Linked DNA regions of Homo sapiens: all the other regions are linked to region 3. Evidence: promoter capture Hi-C in 16 types of primary human blood cells and fetal thymus (Javierre and others, 2016). All regions are on one chromosome and are shown on one strand. Each heading gives the region's core, a stretch centred on a gene start or on the middle of the fragment in contact. The rest is flanking DNA. Distances are from core to core; before and after follow the strand shown. Region 1 overlaps ENAH (ENAH actin regulator). Region 2 has its middle 9.0 kb from the start of LBR. Region 3 holds the start of H3-3A-DT (H3-3A divergent transcript). Region 4 overlaps LBR (lamin B receptor).

Region 1 (3,454 bases), core at 40-2,539, 570 kb before region 3:
GGGTGGATCACCTGAGGTCAGGAGTTCGAGACCAGCCTGGCCAATACGGTGAAACCCTGTCTCTACTAAAAATACAAAAATTAGCCGGGTGTGGTGGCGCATGCCTGTAGTCCCAGCTACTAAGGAGGCTGAGGTAGGAGAATCGCTTGAACCCGGGAGGCAGAGGTTGCAGTGAGCTGAAATCACACCACTGCACTCCAGCCTGGATGACAGAGCGAGACTGTCTCGAAATAATAATAATAACAATAATAATAAAAAGCTTTATCTATCCTTGCTTGTATAGTGGCAAGGAAAAAATAAAAACAAAACAAAAAGAATTTAAAAAAAGAACTCAACTTTAGAGGTAGAAGGCTCAGAGAGAATGACTGACTAGCCCCACAGCCTGAAAACTGGTAAAGTCAGTCCCAGTCCAATGACCTGCCCACAACTCCACACACAAAAAAGGACAGACTGAGAGAGACTGAGGGCGGGAGGAACACAGAGAAAGGGAAATCAAGTCCAACAAGGTGGCAAAGACATGGACTCAATAACAATTTTTACCATGTTTTCTTTCAGAAACAAGGACATTTTATGTGAGGATCAAATATTCTCCCTTCAAAAACTTCTGCAATTGAAGGCCGAGGCGGGCAGATCACCTGAGCTCAGGAGTTCAAGACCAGCCTGGGCAACATGGTGAAACCCCATCTCTACTAAAAATACAAAAATTAGTCGGGCATGGTGGCACGCGCCTGTAGTCCCAGCTACTTGGGAGGCTGAGGCAGGAAAATCCCTTTGAACCCAGGGGGGGGAAGTTGCAGTGAGCCGAGATCGCACCACTGCACTCCAACCTGAGTGACAGAGCAACACTCCGTCAAAAATTTTTTTTTGCAATTGAAACTTAAAATGATCAAGCCCAAAGTACCTCTGGGAAGGACACCAAATTGTAAAGTCCTGACTCAGGCCTGAACCTCCCATCCCTCTAGTAATAAAGAAGAAAGGAAATGCTACCTAGATTTTAACAGGGCTTTCTTCTCAATATCTAAGCCTTCCCAATTACTTTCCTCAGATAAACTATAAGCTATTCTTCTCCTGGAAATTTAAGTGGCAAAGTCAACGTCTTTTACCAACCATCCATGGGCTATTGCTGAGTTGCGGAACTAGCCTACAGCTAACTCAAATTCATCACCTCAGACTCACTGTGATGCCCAACCACTGGCACTGGGGTGGCCTTATGACTTACGACAATCAAATGGGGTTTGTGAATCCATGGTTAAGCTAGCCTGCCACCAAGGATGGACAAACCTCAGACTTGATCAATGGGTGGAGGGAAACTCCATATTTAAAATGCCCAGTGCCTCGGTCAGCAGAACCAACCAAGTGACACCTGAGATCAACTGGTAGTAATAATGAAAAGCTGGTATTTCTCACATAAAACACGTTGAAAAACATTTATTTATTTAGAGATGGAATCTCGCTCTGTCGCCCAGGCTGGAGTACAGTGGCGCGGTCTTAGCTCACTGCAACCTCCACCTCCTGGATTCAAGCGACTCTTCTGTCTCAGCCTCCCGAAGAGCTGGGATTACAGGTGCCCACCACTATGCCCAGCCAATTTTTTTGTATTTTTAGTAGAGATGGGGTTTCATCATGTTGGCCAGGCTGGTCTCAAACTCCTGACCTCAGGTGATCTGCCCACCTCAGCCTCCCAAAGTGCTGGGATTACAGGCGTGAGCCACCATGCCCGGCCATGAAACATTTATTTTTAAAATGCCTTTAATCTTTAAAAAAAAAAATAAAAGAAAAAGAAAAAAAGAAAAGAGGTTTCACAGATGTGACTAAAGCATGGACTGTTAGGCGCTTAAGAGACCAAATTTTTAAAAGCGTTCTGTAATGTATCTCTCTTATATGGTTGCAACAATGTGTATTTTAAGTGTAAGCCAAGAACCTTTTCTCTCAGTTTCTATAGACTTGGATGGAAACTTTTGGACTTGATGGGAAAATTAACTCTCAATCTAAACACTAGCCAATGTAGACTTTTTCTTCTGAGTGCTTTTTCCTATGGAATTCAAAGTACCAACTATTCAATTCTCGATTTTCTAAGCCTTCTTAGAAGAATAACTATTTACTAAAACCCAACCAAACCAACCTATAACATCATCCATCTCCTTTATTAGTTATTTCTTTATGCTTTTAGAATTGTCATCTACTGCTGAAGAAATCTTTCTTGGAATTGAAGGGAACAGTTAAATCAGATTTACATGATAAACTATGGGTTGTCATTTGTATATAGAACTTTTACGGAATAAATGTAGTCTAACAAACTGGGCTCTCTAATGAAATATGTAAGCTTTTCTAATAATTTCTATGAAAAGCTATATTCTCTTAGAATTTTTTTTTTTTTTTTTTAGAGACAGGTTCTCGCTCTGTCACCCAGGCTGGAGTACAGTGGCATGATAACGGCTCACTGCAGCCGCGTCCTCCCTGGGCTCAGGTGATCCTCCCGCTTCAGTCTCCTGAGTAGCTGGGATTACAGGTGTGCACCACCATGCCTGGCCTAAATTTTTAAATTTTTTTGTAGAAATGAGTCTCCCTGTTACCCAGGCTGATCTCAAAACTTCTGGCCTCAAGCAATCCTCCCGCCTCTGACCAGTTTACCGAGCTATTTAGATGTCCTAACTACTAGGAATTATATGTCTTTAAAAACTGAGGAAAAAGAACAGCACTACTCAAATGGTATATTCTTTTTACTCTCAGCCACCAACTGGGGCCCCTAATTTTCTCCCTCTGCCTAGAATTCCTGTGTCCTACACCAGAAGCGTCTACGGGCCCTGCTCTCTGCTCTTTATGAGTATTTAACATGCTTCACAGAACGGGGGTGCAGCTCAGTGACTGTGATTCTTTGGTTCAAACACTTAATTGGGGCTTCATCTTTGATTTTTTCTGCATGTTAATCTGCAAATACTCAAGGCCTACTATGTGCTTTAAATGATACTAACACTTCCGTTTAGAAGGTTGTGTGCATCACAGAGTATCTGTAACGGGGACAGTCCTATTTCCCTTTCTCAATTTTCAGATGTATCGATTCCTTCAGATTTCAACAGAAATAACCAATAAATGTGGCAGACATTCTTACAACATCCTAAGTCATTATGACAGTCATTTATCCTTTTACAATGTTTCTGTTACTTTATAAAGAAAACTATTTAGAAAGACAAATTTAGTTAATTCTTTAGCAGTTGTCAAATGTGTCTCCTCACCAAAAGATTTTACTCTTATGTGACTTGACCATTAGTATTCCACAAATAATTTATCCTAGAACTCCATTTATTTATGTTGATGGTGAGTATCTGTAACCATCCTAAATTTACTGCATTAATATTTTACTTTTCTTTCTAATCAATTTTAGGTTTTAATTTGAAGGTTTCATCTTTCCAGTATTGATATTTTAAAAAATCTTGATGTCTCAAAAATTATCGAG
Region 2 (3,066 bases), core at 248-2,747, 630 kb before region 3:
AAAAATCAAACTTAGTAACATGACACAGACAAGGCCTTCAAAAACTCACCCTAATGGATTTCTGGTAGGCTCAACATCCTCTTCTCTTTCCAGCACCTGCCTTCTCTTTCCCACCCCCTCCACCCTCAGTTCTACCAAATTTCTGATGAGTCCTCAGATAAGCCTTTTCCTCTCTTGTTGCTTGGAATGCCTCCCCCTTCTTTTGAGAGTGGCCTGTTCTTGCTCATCCCCAGCAAAACTTCCTAGGGCAGTCCCCACATACATCTGTCACTGCCTTCCCATGTTATGGGCATCTGCACTCCTCCCAGGCAGGAAGTATATTTAATTTCTCCTTGTATCTCTCCCCATTAAGTAAATGAATGTGTTCATCATGAAACTGTGTCATATATGTTCTCCTAAAGGTCAGAAGGTAGTAAACGCTCTTGTTCCAGTTACTGAGCTGCCACAGGCTGGACTGAGGCAAGAAGAGATAAAGCCTCCGCTGGCACTGACTGTTCCCACCGGCTGGAGAGGTGCGGAAGCCTATCTTCGGTGTCTCTCTTGCTGTCTGCCACAGGCTCACAGCCCCATGGTGGGGACTCTGCTGTGCTTAAATACCCTTTTCTCCACCTGGGTTGCCACCATCTCTCTTAATTCAGAATATGTAACTAAATGTTTCTTTTTAAAACCTACAGGGAACACAGGTGCATGGCTTGTTTTGGCATGGTTGCTAAAACTGCGAGTCCCAGAGGGCAGCCTTCTTCCCCACCTCCCACCCAAAGTCTACATTCAGAGGCAGACGGGGGCTCAATTGTGGAACAGAAAGTACCATCTAGGTAACATGTAATTACCATGTTGCTTCCCTTCTGGACAAGATAAGGCTCAGCCCATCAGTGTTAATGTTTAGCACTTCATGTCTGTTCAGCAATTGCTCCCACTCTATCAACAAAACTACACCATACCCTTTAGGAAAAGTGTGTAGCAACTACAGTTGGCATCAGAACAATGGAGAAAGAGAAGGAGAGGGAAGGGGACTCATTTCTAATGAGGCCCTGTTCTGTGTCACTTACCAGTCCTTACCTTATTTATGGCTCAAATCAACTCAACAAAATAGGCATCACCCCCTCTTTCAGGACGAGGAAACTGAGACTCAGGTCAGCAAAGTTGCAATACAGCGCACCCACCAAATTGGGGCTGGAAAAGAAATTCTAACCCAGTTCTCTGGATTCCAAAGCATATGTTCTTTCTACCCTCCAAACCCATTAGGGTCCCCAAGCAGCCTCTTAGCTCCCTTAGCCATTGACTTCCGGTCGCCACACACAATTCATATTACATGATCCCACTGTCAATGTCAGCTGGAGACATCCCAGGCTAATGAGAATATAGCTTGTGGGCGTTTTGTCTACATTTCTGGAGCAAAGAACACTCATCCCTGCTCTCTCAAAGAGCACCATGCATGTGAACTTGTCCTTGTCTCTCACCCTTTGATTCTTTCTTCCATGGCTGGTCTATTTTAATTCTGATACCTATTCTGGATTCTGTAGGACTGTCTTTATGTCTTCCTTTCCAGGGACTATCTTAGAATATTCACTTGTAGGTATGATATCAAGGGCAGGATCACTGTAATCTTTGTAGTACACTTAGTACAGTACCCAATGTGATTAAATCTGTTTAAAACACATTTAAGGGGAATAAAATATAAAATATTTGAGATGAATATTTAAAACCAAATTTGCATAATTGTTTTAAATTTTTTCATTTTACTTGAGCAAGAGGTACAACATAAAACCTATTTGGAGCACAGTAGTGTATTGAATCATTTTAGTCATAACACACACCTACATAAATGACTAAAAATATCAATATTTTATCCTTTTAAACAGATGACATATAATTGCAACGTAGATTTATTTGAAAGTTGTACAGAGTTGGCTTGATAGTTATTCAACAACTGTAAGTATTAATTGGCATGAGTATTTCAGCAGAAAAAAACTATATATTCATACTAAGTTGCTGATGATATTTTGCTTGCTTACTTTAGATACAAGAGGCTAGGATCCCAGAAATTTCACTGCTGTAGCAAAGCAAGTCATGTTACTCTGAATTGACAGTTCCCAGTCATTCTCCACGGTAAGTCATATTGCCAAACACAATGCCATTTTTAGGTCTACTTTAATCCTATTTGACTATACAGATATGGTTTTTATTTACTTAGTCCTATGGTTTGAATGTTTGTCTTCGCCAAAATTCATTTGAAATTTAGTTGGCATCGTAACAATGTTGAGAGGTGGGACCTTTAAGAGGTGATCAGGCCATGAGGGCTGCACCCTCATGGGCGGCATTACTGCCATTATAAAAGGGCAGGGTCAGCCCCCTTTCATCTCTTGGCCCTTCCACCTTCTGGCCATGGAGTGACACAGCAAGAAGGCCCTCACCAGAGGCAGGCATTTAGTGCTGTTCATTATAAATTACCTGGTCTGTGTTATTCTGTTATTCAAAAATGTCATTTCTGCAAATATATAGTTCCTCCCTTTTTAAAAAAAAGTTCTACTTCTTTTTTCTATTTTACTTTTACTGATGTTTTGTGTATTCATCTTCCTGGTCCTATAGAGAACTCCTATTGCTCCGTAAGTCAAGGCCAGAACTCCCATCCTGACCAGAAGGAAAGATGCCCAGTTCCCACATCTCCTTTGCTAGGCCTGCCAGAAGGGGGCTCCTCCTCCTGGCCAAGGCAGGCTAGTCAGATCCCTTTGTGTTCATTTTTAAAAAGAAGTGCCATATCCTTAAACATACTTCAGCTGTCCTTGTGCCTGCTGGATAATGTATGAGCTTCTGGAAAAAATTCTTCAGCACTGAACATGAATTTAACAGGATATCGCTCCCTTCTTAAGGTTTTCAAATCATAAAGTCAGATTAGGGATTCCCATTAATAATTAGTCCTCTTTATTACACTCAAAAGGACAACATAAATTCCTGTCAGTTACTTTGAAAATACTTTGCTCATTAATACCTACTCAAACCAACGATAAATACTACTTACAAAAATTCTCTCCTTAACAAAACTCCACCCAGGCTCCTCTCAGCCCT
Region 3 (3,180 bases), core at 600-3,099:
GTTATTCACTGCTGCATTCCCAGCACCCCTGAATTGTGCTGAGCAGAGTTGGCACTCAATAAATATTCATTCAGTGAGAAAACTTCCTGAAGCCACTAGGAGGGTAACCAGTCACCTCTCCAGGTGCTTAAATACTTGAACCTACTAGAAAGAATTTGTGGCCTAACTTCATAGAGATAAATATTATTATTCCCATTTCACAAATGGACAGACAGCTGAGTTAGTTCAAATCATCTAAGATCATAATTACTCTACCTAAAATGGTCTGACCCTTGGTTAGAAATATTTTTTAAAGCCAAGAAGTAGAAGCTATTGAAAAATCCAGCATACAAAGAAAACATTACCCATGTCATTTAACATTTCTTGAAGATATGATGCATTTAACTAATGCAGAACAGCCTTCCTGGATAAATCCAACAATAAATATTTCGGTTTCCTGAAAACAAAACAAAAAACAAGCAAAATAACTCATCTTGGCTTGAATTATAGGAAATTCTTTGCTGGCAGCTCGGTCCAAGCTGATTGCATATGTGCTTTTAGGATAGGATTAGAGATTGCATGTGTTCTGCACAGCAACCATGGACACTTAACATTCATGAAATAATAATGAAACGGGAGGCCTGGATTTTTGTCTGTTTGTTTCTCCTAGGTCTCTTCCTCACTTAAGTGACCTTGGACAAATCCATTTCTTCCCTCGTATCTGATTTCCATGTATCTGTTTCGGGATAATGTTTATCACTAAGCCGCTTTGTGAGATCTTCAGATTACAAATAATTACTGCCCTTCATTTATGAAATTTTCCTCCTTCACTACCCTACGGGATATTTGCATGACCCTTCCATTGAAAACCTTTACACACAGTTGTGAAGCGTCAATACCATCTAGGGACGGTTCAGAGGTTCCAAAGCCAATCAACTGACAAGTCGTGAGGATAACTTGGGCCATGAAAAGTCCGTTTCCTATGCTACTGAGAATTGGAAAACAGGTATATGTACTAATTCCCAAACCACGTTTGCCTTCTTTCTGCCGTTTTCAGCCTCTTCTAAACTATGCAGAAGCTGCGGACATTTGACTATCTATATTCGGCAATTCCTTTCCAAAGCAATCCTACCGAAAACAGATCACACGGCCCCCACGGGCGGGCAGGACAAGCCACCAGGCCCTGGTGCAGGAGCTGCGCGCTCCACACATTGTTTAGAGGCCGACGCGACACAGCCATCTTGCGTCGGGGGCCCGGGCCCGGGAGGAGAGCGAGCCCCGTCCCCTGATCCCGGAGGCCAACACCGGCGAGGGGCTGCCCTGCACGCAGGCGGCCGGCCCAGGAGTCTTAGCGGATCAAGTTGTCTACGGCGGACTCGGGCCGGTCCCGCAGGACCCGGCCGCACTTGGCCGAGCGCGCAGGCGGGAAGGAGGCCGTCGGTCCGCCCCTCCCGCTGCCGCAGCGGCCAGGTCCGACAGCGGGCGCGGGACGCTGGATTCCTATTTGCCAGCTTCCTGCTGGGGAGCGTTTTCCAATGGGGCGCGGCGACCCGGCCGACCGCGTCCTCCTCCCCCACTGCCGCCCGGGTCTCCTCGGGGGCGCGCGCCGGGGCCCGCGCGGGGGCAGCCCCTCCCTCCCCTCCCCGCCGCGGCCCGAGACGCCCGCAGGCCGGGCGTTCACCCGCCGCGCCTCCGCCCGCCTTCCCCTCCCCCCACTTCCCTCCGGGCGCCCCAAACCCGGGCTTCGGGGGTTCGACGCCGTGCGCACACGGAGCGGGATGGGAGTGCAGGGCCGGGGGCGGGGGCTGGCCGGGTGCGGGCGGCAGTCTCGGCGGGAGCCGGCGGCCCCTCAGCGTGTCTTTTGTGTTTGTACACACACGGCGCGAGGCGGCCTGGAGGAGGGAGCGGGCGGCGCGCGGGGGAGGGGCGAGCGCGCGCCAGCGAACGGGCGCGCGGGGGGAAGGGCGGGGGCGGGGCGCGAGAGGAGCTATGGGGGCGGGGCCGAGCCTTCCCTCCATTGTGTGTGATTGGCTGGCGCGCGGCGCGGGGGCGGGGCGGCGTGTGTTGGGGGATAGCCTCGGTGTCAGCCATCTTTCAATTGTGTTCGCAGCCGCCGCCGCGCCGCCGTCGCTCTCCAACGCCAGCGCCGCCTCTCGCTCGCCGAGCTCCAGCCGAAGGAGAAGGGGGGTAAGTTTCCCCGTCTGCCCGCTTCCCCGGAACCGAGCCCCGCTTGCCGTCAGCCCCGAGCCGGGCCCTGGCGGTGCCGGGAGGGGACCCATAGCCCCTCCGGCTTAGCCCACAAACTTTTTGGCCCAGAAATGGAGGTGAGGAGCGAGTTTCCCTGTTCCCTCTGGCGGCGGCGGCTCCCCCGTCTCTCGCCGCCTCAGCCCAACAGCAGCAACCGCCGCGGCGCCGAGCCTGCTCTCCCTCCTCCTCCCCGCGCCCCTGGCTCCTCTTTCTTCGGTGAAATCCCGCCCGCCGCCCCTTCCCCGGACCCCAAACCTTCACCATGACCCGCGCGGGCCTCTTAACTACCGCCCCCGGGCCCCAGCCCCCAGTTTTCGAGCGGGAAAGGGGTGGAAATCGCCGCCGCTTCGCACCCTGGGGTAACTCGCTTTTTGCTGCCTCCCCACAGTTGTTGCTAAGCTTCACCATCTTGTCTCTCTTCTCTGGTCACCGACCATATTTTTTCCCCCGTTTCTCTCTTCCCCATTTCAAAAAAGCAAGAATTTTTAAAAGAGGGACGTTTTTTTCCCTTTTTTGGAGAGGCGGAAACTTGATGCATTTGAAATGCAAAAAAAACTTTTGCATTTTGGAGGGCGGCACGTGGCAGGGGATAGGGGTATTTTCGAGCGATTTGGTGTTTTGTCTCTTTGGAACGGAATCGGATACGTTTTGCGATTGTTTCCATTTTGTTCTGGTCGGGGAGCCGAGTTGGTTCCTGCTCGAGGCGCTGGGAGCGAGGCGGGCAGGTTGGGGGACCCTGTGCCGAGGGACCCGAAGGAGGCAAAACCAAAAGTTTATGTGGTGCTTGGGGTGGACCGGTCGGCGGATGTCGTGCGTTAATTAAAGCCTGGGTGCGGGGCACTTTTTATTTCACTGCGAAGCCTGTGAGGACTGGACGCGAGGACGGGGCTTTGTAGAATGCTCGCTGGTGGTAGCTGTTGTTCCTCTCTTGTTTTTTCGAGACGCCTTTTTGTC
Region 4 (3,517 bases), core at 372-2,871, 640 kb before region 3:
TACACTTAGCAATGGAGAGACAAATTTTAAAGATATTGCAGGAATCTGAAAACAACGTAAAATGTTCTTGACAACAAGCTTCTGAAAGAGATGAAAATTAGAAACTTTTCATACTTTTTTAAAGTAAAAGATGTAGACTAAAGTCCATCGAGCCCAGTAGCCTATCAATTAATCATTTAAAATGCTGCATCTGAAATGACACATACTAAGAGTGAATTTTTTTTCCATAGCAACCTCCACTGAGAGTCGGCTACTTTGCAAAATAGCCTATTCTTTTCTATTTGGTTTGAAAAGTTACACAAGAAATCTCAATCAGATTTTTTTTTAAGTTCCTCCTAATAAGCAAGTGTTATACAGACAGCACAAGAGAAATGGCTTCATGAACTAAGTTTTGGGAATTATGACCAACAACAGCCTTTAACCTTTAAACTACTCTAAGGCTGGGCAGCATGGCACAGGCCTGTGGTCCCAGCGACTCAGGAGGCTGCGGCAAGAGGATCACTTGATCCCAGAAATTGGAGACCCGCCTGGACAATATAGTGAGACCTCATCTTATTAAAACAAAACAGAATTACCATAAACGTACCTTTCCAATTGGCAGTAGGTAGAACAGGACTTGAATCAAAAACCACAGGAGGTAGACCCCAAATACTCTGGTTTCCCATAACTCATACAAAGCTGGCAAAGGAGGAGGGAAATTCAGAAGACTGGGATCTTTCTGTTTACACATCAACAGCAACAGGAAGAGGAACACAGGCAGGCCAAACATGATGAGAAACACACCTGCAAACAATTCATGAACATTCGAGGCTCAAATTTCAATCTGGTTTATTTATTTAAGAATCATGTTAGATTTGTTAAGATCAGAACTCGTTATCTGGCTAACTGTCTGAAACCAATTTCTAATGTACCATCAAAAACTCCCATCTCTACCTGTCACCTCTGGTGGCCTGGCAACCATGGGCATCAAAGTAGTAAAAAAAATAAATAAATAAAAATAAAAAAAAAAAGAAAGAGGTCCAACATTGAATAGCTACACCCACCTCAGAAACCAAGCTCTAAAACATTTGACCTCCAACCACTAAGGAGCGAATGTGTTGAAACTCCAGCAAACTGAAGATCAGAACATCTAAAAATTATCAGCCTAATCTTAACAAAAAACTTTATATTCCTCAGTTTCTAACAATTAAAATAGTGTCACGTTCATGTAATGTGTGCAGATTTTAAGTGATGCTGGACAGCATCTGTAACAGGCCAGCTAGCCAAAGGTTATAACAAAATACAAAGCAATTAAGCCATGCAGGATTTTGAGCCATTTAGACAAGAAGTCTTTTCTTTTACTAGCTCATAAAATTTCATCAGTTCCACCCACTTAGTAACTCCAAAACTCTGCACACTTCAGATCTTTGACCCTCACAATCAACCCGCCTAGCAGGTAGGGCAGCCTCCGGGATCCCATTTTATGCAGGCAGCTGAGGCCCACTGCTGGCCCCTGCCGCCTCAGGTCTGACTATTAGCAGAGCTCTCTGTCCCTGATAAGTAACCATCTATGCTATACAAACTCCCAGATCAACCTTCCTTTATCACTTCTTTGTACTTCTGTGCTCAAAACCTCTGAACAGACTGCTAAAAGTTTTAAACACAGCTACAATGGCATCCTTTCTACTCCATAATCCCTCAAAATGCTCCCACCTCAAGCCTTTGCACCCACTGTTCCTTCTCTGGAAGGCTCTTCCACAGGTTCCCACCAGGCTCATTACCTTGCCTGCCTCAGATGTCTTCAGAGAGGCCTTTCCAGTTCACCTTGTGGCAACCACCCCTAGCTCACCCCACCTGCCCTCTCTGGGCCCAGCTCTGAGGCCTACCAGGTACTCCTCCAAACTCCAAGTCCTTTGCCCGGATGGGGGTCACTTCAAAGGTTCTCACTGCCAGTTCTTTTGCAACGTATTTTTCTTCCTTAGAATCTATTTCTTTTAATTTGACTTCTTCTCTTCTTGGACGAAGGCTATACTGTGTTGCTATGTAACTGCTTTCTTGTGACAAACTGAATTTTTCCTAAATGAAAAATTTAAAAATTAAATATCTGCAGTGAACAATTACCATTAATGCTACTGCATTAACTATTTCAGCATCTCAATACAGCTATACACTAGTAAGAATAAATTTGTGAAATTATATTCAGTCTTAATTTAAGGACAGAATTTTAGAACAGGTTATAAAATATTACAATTTTCAATGTGCTTCTCAAGGGAGAGTCACTTTTAACCAAAAAAAAGAAAAAAAAAAACAACCAAGATGAAAGGGAACACTTTCCCACCTGTGTATTTTTATGAGGTGCGTCATTTCTCTCAATATGCTCAGGCTCCCCATTATATCTGCTGATGCTATTTCCAAATGGCTTCTAAATTGAAGAATATAAACATTTAATCAAAAGAACTGTAACTTATTAAAAAGAAACATGATGGTAAAAACTTACTGTTTTGGAATCAAGCAATAAAACAGATTTTTCACAGCCTTAATTCTGACGAATTTAACCCTCATTTTGTTAAAAATGAAAAGGAATAAAACTGACTAGAATTTCCCAGTCTCTGAAATATTGGATAGATTTCTACATAAAATCTTTCATCTGGCCAGGCACGGTGGCTCACACCTGTAATCCCAGCACTTTGGGAGGCCAAGGCGGGTGGATCACCTGAGGTCAGGAGTTCAAGACCAGCCTGGCCAACATGGTGAAACCCTGTCTCTACTAAAAATACAAAAAAATTAGCCACGCACGGTAGCGGGCACCTGTAATTCCAGCTACTTCGGAAGCTGAGGCAGGAAAATCTCTTGAACCCGGAGACGGAGGTTGCATTGAGCCAAGACCGCGCCATTGCACTCCAGCCTGGGCAACAAGAATGAAACTCCGCCTCAAAAAAAAAAAAAACAACTTTGATCTTTCACGTAATCAGACTGAATGTCATAATTTCATTGATAGATTTTAGGGGTATTTACTATGAAAGGCAGAGAAAGTAAAAATTGGTAAATTAGTTCATTAACTGGATAAAAAACAAAAGACATTCAAAAAGACATTCACTGCTCCAAAATAGCCCATAATGGAAAACTAAGAAATAGTGGGTACTTATGCAACACACAGTAGGCCCAAGGCACTACCAGGTAAGAGGCAAAGCTTCTGTGGTTCTTGTGACACCAGGACTGTAAGATTACACTGTAAAAATATAGCAGTCACTAAATATTAAAAATGAAAGGATAACAAAGTATCACACAGCATCTGTTCCTGGAGTCCCGGGGTGGTAAAGAGAGCCACTAATAGTTAAAATGTTCTAATTCAAAATATAAGTTAGAACAGTAAGTTGAAAATGTCTGACAGCCACATTCTCCAAAAAAAAAAAAAAAAATTATAATACTCAGAATGAGAAACTGAGCATTCATACACTGATACTACTATAAACTTTCTTGATGCAATCTGGCAATATGTATTAAAAGCCTCAAATCTGCACCATACAGCTGACCTAGC

Evidence for each region. Contacts are between HindIII fragments. The CHiCAGO score rates a contact against its expected background, and 5 or more counts as called.
Region 1: a contact is called between a fragment that was not itself captured here and the fragment with the promoter of H3-3A-DT in region 3, in 9 of 17 cell types (non-activated CD4 T cells, naive B cells, neutrophils and 6 more). The highest score is 7.7, in non-activated CD4 T cells.
Region 2: a contact is called between a fragment that was not itself captured here and the fragment with the promoter of H3-3A-DT in region 3, in 10 of 17 cell types (total CD8 T cells, fetal thymus, activated CD4 T cells and 7 more). The highest score is 10.2, in total CD8 T cells.
Region 4: a contact is called between a fragment that was not itself captured here and the fragment with the promoter of H3-3A-DT in region 3, in 4 of 17 cell types (neutrophils, total CD8 T cells, fetal thymus and 1 more). The highest score is 10.5, in neutrophils.

What each region holds. Positions count from the first base shown.
Region 1 is chr1:225,489,720-225,493,173 of GRCh38, forward strand. It overlaps ENAH (ENAH actin regulator), which reads right to left. Exons shown (of 14, transcript NM_018212.6): 14 at 1-3,454. Among named protein-coding and RNA genes, the nearest start is that of LINC02765, 24 kb to the left of the region's middle. The HindIII fragment of the contact is 2,064 bases long and covers 258-2,321 here.
Region 2 is chr1:225,435,534-225,438,599 of GRCh38, forward strand. No RefSeq gene overlaps it. Among named protein-coding and RNA genes, the nearest start is that of LBR, 9.0 kb to the left of the region's middle. RefSeq lists enhancers at 397-446, 517-676. The HindIII fragment of the contact is 6,515 bases long and covers 1-3,066 here.
Region 3 is chr1:226,060,646-226,063,825 of GRCh38, forward strand. It overlaps H3-3A-DT (H3-3A divergent transcript), which reads right to left and starts at 1,850. Exons shown (of 2, transcript NR_185887.1): 1 at 345-1,850. It overlaps H3-3A (H3.3 histone A), which reads left to right and starts at 2,071. Exons shown (of 4, transcript NM_002107.7): 1 at 2,071-2,166. RefSeq lists silencers at 1,190-2,039, 1,626-1,791, 2,410-2,479. The HindIII fragment of the contact is 4,693 bases long and covers 1-2,623 here.
Region 4 is chr1:225,417,398-225,420,914 of GRCh38, forward strand. LBR (lamin B receptor) reads right to left here. Exons shown (of 14, transcript NM_002296.4): 4 at 2,318-2,401; 5 at 1,866-2,055; 6 at 587-783. Among named protein-coding and RNA genes, the nearest start is that of LBR, 8.9 kb to the right of the region's middle. The HindIII fragment of the contact is 3,091 bases long and covers 77-3,167 here.